Linked DNA regions of Homo sapiens: region 2 is linked to region 1. The links are contacts of gene promoters, found by promoter capture Hi-C in human tissues and cell types (Jung and others, 2019). All regions are on one chromosome and are shown on one strand. Each heading gives the region's core, a stretch centred on a gene start or on the middle of the fragment in contact. The rest is flanking DNA. Distances are from core to core; before and after follow the strand shown.

Region 1 (2,923 bases), core at 364-2,863:
GAGACCAGCCTGACCAACACGGCGAAACCCCGTCTCTACTAAAAATACAAAAATTAGCCGGGCATGGTGGTGGGCGCCTGTAATCCCAGCTACTCAGGAGGCTGAGGCAGGAGAATCGCTTGAACCCCGGAGGCAGAGGTTGCAGTGAGCGGAGATCGCGCCACTGCACTCCAGCCTGGGAGACAGAGCGAGACTCCGTCGTCTCAAAAACAAAACAAAACAAAACAAAAAAACAATGTTCCGGGGAAAATGGGTCTCTGAGCTGCAATAAGAGAAATGTGAGTTAGATCCAAGAAAGTACATAGTAACCTCTTTTTTTTTTTTGAGACGACGTCTCACTCTGTCACCCAGGCTGGAGTGCAGTGGCGCGATCTCGGCTCACTGCAACCTGCGCCTCCCGGGTTCAAGCGATTCTCCTGCCCCAGCCTCCCAAATAGCTGGAACTACAGGCGCCCGCCACCACGACCGGCTAATTTTTGTATTTTTTTAGTAGAGACAGGGTTTCCCCACATTGGCCAGGCTGGTCTCGAACTCCTGACTTCGTGATCCGCCCTCCCCGGGTTCCCAAAGTGCTGGGATTACAGGCGTGAACCACTGCGCCTGGCCAGAGTAACCTCTTGAAGTTCCCTTTCGATTTGATTCCTTGGTGGAGGAGACCTTTAGTCTCCGCCCACTTACTGCCACCTGGCCCTACCCACCAAACACCTGATGGGTGCTGACGTCCGAGCCCAGTCTCCAAACACTCTGTTCGAGCTTGGGTGGGAAGAGGGAGCCTCTGGGATTCTGCTGGGCTGGGCCCTGAAGGCAGGAGTGGACGAGAAATGGATACGGTCTAGGCTCAGCTTCCCGGCTACGCAGTGCGTTCTGTGAAGGACGGACTCATTTCTACATTGACAGTCTTAGCCTTTGATACCAGAAGTCGCAGCACTTAGGGGGAAAAATGCTTTTTGGTAATTATAATTAGCGACATTTGGTTGTTACCACTGCTAAATATGTCTGTCTTTGCTGAGGAGCCAATCTCAGCTCGGATCAGGGTGAGTGGATAGGAGAAATAAATCTCGGCAAAGACAGCGAGGGGCCTGAGTGCGAGGAAGAACTCCCAGAGACCGCCAGCCACCTCTTGGGGACTCACAGCGCTGCGGAGGCGAGTCCAGCATTCTAGCCAGCCGCGCACGGACGTCGGTTCCCAGATGCGCCAATGCCAGGTCTCTCCAGCCCGGCTGGCCTTTTCAGCAGCAGCAGCAGCAGCCGCAGGAAAGCGGCCAGACAAATCCCACCCCCGGCCCCGCCCGTCACATCCATCTTGCTCCCCAGGCGACGCTTTCTCGGAGAAGCGAGGGGCGGGGAGGGGAAATCTAAGCCTTTGGGGGTTGCCGACAGGTGTTTGGGGGAGAAGGCGGAGCTGGGGTAGGGAGGATGAGGAGGGAGGGGCGGTGCTGCCCCTTTAAGAGGAGGCGGCCGAGCCGGGATCTTTTTCTCTTTCCCCGGAAGGAAAGCGCAGCCCGGGCTGGGCTCGCAAGGTGGGGAGGTGCGGGACTGGGCGTGGGGAGGCGGGGCGCGCGCCGGGGGACCCCTCCCTCCTGTCCTCCTTGCGGTCGACCGGTGCGCTTGCCAGATCCGCCGCGAAGCCGGGATCGAAGGCGACAGCGCGGCCAAGGGGGCGCGGCCGGGACAAGCTGGGGGCCGGTTGCCCGGGGCAGGGACGGCGGCGACCCGGCCGCTGGGGAGGCAGGAAGATAGACCCACGGATCTTAGGAAGGGATCCGAGAGCGCAGCTGTGAAACTGGCTGGGGCTGGGGGCACGAAACCGATCAGCGCTACGGAGCGCAGCGGCCGGCGGGTTCCAGTGTCCTCCGGCGGCGCGGGGAGCAGGTGAACAGGTCCTCACGCCCAGCTCCGCGCCCTCACGCGCTCTCGCCGGGACCCCGCTTCCGCTGGCAGCCATGGGCCCCGGCCCCAGCCGCGCGCCCCGCGCCCCACGCCTGATGCTCTGTGCGCTCGCCTTGATGGTGGCGGCCGGCGGCTGCGTCGTCTCCGCCTTCAACCTGGATACCCGATTCCTGGTAGTGAAGGAGGCCGGGAACCCGGGCAGCCTCTTCGGCTACTCGGTCGCCCTCCATCGGCAGACAGAGCGGCAGCAGCGCTACCTGTAAGTGAAGCTGGAGGGTGTGGGGTGGGAGCGAGAGAGTGTGCGAGCGCGGGATGCGGGTCCGGAGCTGAGTCGGAGCCCAGGGCAGCTGGCCCTTGGGAGCCAGGATTAAGGGGCGGCCCTCTGGCTGCTGGGGGTTGGCGGGAAGTGGAGGATTGGGTGTGGGGTCGGGCAGTAATCATTGGCAAGTGCTGACGGGGCCAGAACCTGTCTGGACGCCACCCCTCCGCCCTTTAGATCTCTCATGAGAGCGGAAGTGGGGTCCCGGTGGCTGAGTCCTCTCCCATTCTGTGAACCGAGTACCCAGCACTAGCCTGTTCTCTCCAGGGCTGGGAGCTGGGGTAAACTGCAAGATAAACACCCAGCGGACTCCCCCCTTCCCGTACGCTTGGGGGAAAAATGAGCATATACATTTAAGCACCTCGCTGGTAGTCTGCGGCCACGCCAGCCACACCCTCTGCAGAGCCAGACTGGATGGCCTTCTCAACCGCTGGCTTGGCGGATGGAGGGTGAGGCGATGGGTGAGTCTGGGCGTTTGGAGCTGTCCATACGCTCCCTCTGACGCCTTGAGGATAGGGGCGGTGAAAGAGAGAGGAGGACTTGTCCCAACTCTGGCTGGGTCTCCTCCTGCCCACCCGCAAGCAGTGGCACTCTCCCCGCAGACATCTTCCCTGCATTCCACAGATTCGTGTTGGATCTTCAACCCTGAGTGTGTTTGTTTTGGTTTGAAGAGGGAAACAGTGTTTTTCTCTTTCTTCTGTTCTCCTTCCCCAA
Region 2 (2,825 bases), core at 204-2,703, 74 kb after region 1:
CTGGGGAGGGAGCGGGAGCGGGAGCGGAAGGAAGTGAGGAGTAGGAAGAAGCAGAGACAGACACACAAACTGGCGGAGAGTCCACAGGGCTGCTGAGAAGAAAGAGATCACACCGAGAGTGGGGCCACGGGAACTGGCACTGGGAACAAGGGCTTCCGCCGCTCTAAGTGACGCCCGAGGGTGGGAGAGAAGGGAGAAGCCCTTCGGGCAGGCGATAGGAAAGGGCCCCTGAAGAGGAGAAAGCGACAGAGAGAAGTGCAACTGGGAGAGGCCGGGAAGAGGTGGATGGGAAAGGAGACTAGCGGTCGGGGAGGCAGTTGTGGAGCCAGAGAGGTGGTCCCCCCTTCCCATATCGCCGGCCGTCCACTGGCCCCAGGCTTGGGGTAGTCCTCAGGAGTCGGGCACCCCCTCAAAGCACTGTTGGAGATGGGGTGAGGTTGGGGACAGGGCACCTACTCCACTCTCAGAGCCCTTCTCCCCAGTCAGAGCCCGGTGGCTAGTTTCTCTCCAAACCATCAGCACAACTCCCCGCCGGGCAAGAAAGAGTTAAGCCCTCTCCCCCTCCCCCCACACCAGCTTTTTATTAATTTCTCCGGGCGTCGGGCGGGAGGGAGGGGATTAGGGCCATAAATCCTATCTCCGCCCCCTCCCCTGACAGCCCGGCACCCCAGCCCCGTGCGGTCCCCCTAGGGATAGGGGAAGAAAGGCCCTTGTCGCTTAGCCCTGCCCAACCCCACTCAGGGTCCCACCGCGGGCCCGAGTGGCCCTAGCCCCAGTTCCCGGTCCACCCCAGGGCGCCCGGCCCCTCACCTCCGGCATCGGTCATCTTCAGCGTCTGGCGCCCCGGGAACCCCTCAGGCCCATGGTGCTCGAGGCGGGGGCCGGGCAGGAGAGGGGTGGGGGGACCGTCACCCCGGCCGCGGGGGGCTCCGGGCGGGCTCGAGCCGCTCCATCCCGGGGGTGGGGGTGAGGTCGGCGGGAAGGGTCCCAGAGCCGGGGGAGATGGAGGGCGGGGGATGTGGGGAGAGGGAACAGGTTCGCTGGAAGCAGGAGGCGCGGGCGGGGCTGGACCAGGAGACCTGACGGGAGGATGCTCCGTGTGTGTGTGCGTGTGCGTGTGCGTGTGTGTGTGTGTGACAGAGAGAGAGAGAGAGAGAAGAGCGAAGAGCGAGCGCCACCTCCCTCCCCGCCCCTGCCGCCCGCCAGGCCTGGCCGGACGCGGGGCCCCCGCCTGGCAGGGCCGATTCGCGCGGCGTCGCGTCGGCAGGGGTCCGCGGGGGTCTCCGGGGAAGGGGCGTCGGGGTGGGGGGCGCGTGGCGGAGAAGCCGGGCGCCCAGGAGACAAAGAGCGGGAGGGAGCGAGGGGGCGGGGGCGGGGGAGGGCGGCGGGGAGGAGGCGGCTGGGGCCGGGGAGCGGAGTTGCAGCTACTTCTCTGCCCGCGGGAGACGCGGCGCACCGGAGTCTGCGCGGGTGGGAGCGGCTCCGGGGCGGTCCCGCCACGGGACCCACGGGGCTTCCGCCTCCTCTGCCGGGTCCATCAGGGCTCCCGATTAGTTCATTCATTCAACAAACGTCCGCCGAGCAGCCGGGGCGCCGAGGCTGGAGGGGACAGCGGTGAACAGAACCCCCGCCCCCTAACTGCGCTCAAGGCCAGTGGGCCAGTCGGGGGCTCAGACGAGTGGGGAGGCCCTCACGAGCCTGGGCGCCATGGGCCCAGCTAACAGAGGGCACTTCTTGCCGGAAGGGAGAGCGCACCCCTGGCCCGGCCTGGGTCCAGGCGGCCGCGGCGGGAGCTGGGCTGGGGGATTCCCAGAGGATGTGATGTGTTGGCTACAACTGCGGGCCAGGGTAGGGAAGTGCCAGGGGGTGTTGGGGGTGGGAGGGCAAGAGGGGAAGATAAATTGAAGCTGGGGAGGTGCAGGGGGCTTGCACTTTATTCTACCAGCCGCCCACCCCGCCGCCCACACACACACACACACACACACACACACGCGCGCGCGCGCACACACACAAAATTAAGAGGAGGGAGGGGCTCAGGTGTGCATTTAGGAAGCACCCTTGGCTCCCCTGGAGACAGGGTTACAGAGGGCACTCTGAAGGCAGGGAGACCCGCTGGAGGCTATTGAGGGCCGGTGGCAGTGGGCATAAAGATTACAGATTAAGCTGAGAGCCCTTCAGGATGCAGGCCTGAAGAAGCTGACACCGAAGAAGCTGACAGGATTTGGGGACCTGCTGGACTAGGAGGTGAGGGAGGAGGGGTCTAGGATGGCTGTGGACCTTGGCTTGAGGCAGGAAGCCCTGGAGCAGGTGGGGGTGGGGACGGATGAGATCAGACTTGGACCCAGTGCGCTGATGGTAGTGGCAGGCCAGCCAGGGAGGCAATGTAGGGATCCACAACCAGCTACCGCACGTCACAGCTTGGCAGGTGCCAGGCGCTCTCAGATCATCTATTGTCACCCTCACAATAAACCCACAAGGTGGGTGTTTCCATTACCCACTGCCTCAGAGAAAACAGAGACTTAGAAGAAGGAAAGTGCTTTGCTCAAGAGCAAGTGGTGAAAGGCCAGGCGCAGTGGCTCACGACTGTAATCCCAGCACTTTGGGAGGCCAAGGTGGGTGGATTACATGAGGTCAGGAGTTCGAGACCAGCCTGGCCAACATGGTGAAACCCTTGTCTCTACTAAAAATACAAAAATTAGTCAGGCATGGTGGCGCTACTCTGGAGGCTGAGGCATGAGAATTGCTTGAACCTGGGAGGTGGAGGTTGGAGTGAGCTGAGATTGTGCCACTGCCTTTCAGCCTGGCCAACAGAGTGAAACTCAAAT

What was found. The method cuts DNA at HindIII sites, captures the fragments that hold promoters and counts their contacts. A contact is called where the count stands out against the background at its distance.
Region 2: a contact is called between the fragment with the promoter of SAMD14 here and the fragment with the promoter of ITGA3 in region 1, in 1 of the 25 tissues and cell types used here (IMR-90 fibroblasts).

The regions. Positions count from the first base shown.
Region 1 is chr17:50,054,497-50,057,419 of GRCh38, forward strand. It overlaps ITGA3 (integrin subunit alpha 3), which reads left to right and starts at 1,614. Exons shown (of 26, transcript NM_002204.4): 1 at 1,614-2,149. The coding sequence starts at 1,944. PICART1 (p53 inducible cancer associated RNA transcript 1) reads right to left here and starts at 1,243. Exons shown (of 3, transcript NR_038230.1): 1 at 1,133-1,243. RefSeq lists an enhancer at 42-568 and a silencer at 1,548-1,687. The HindIII fragment of the contact is 12,867 bases long and covers 1-2,923 here.
Region 2 is chr17:50,128,707-50,131,531 of GRCh38, forward strand. SAMD14 (sterile alpha motif domain containing 14) reads right to left here and starts at 1,454. Exons shown (of 10, transcript NM_001257359.2): 1 at 811-1,454. RefSeq lists silencers at 1,170-1,229, 1,470-1,549. The HindIII fragment of the contact is 12,261 bases long and covers 1-2,825 here.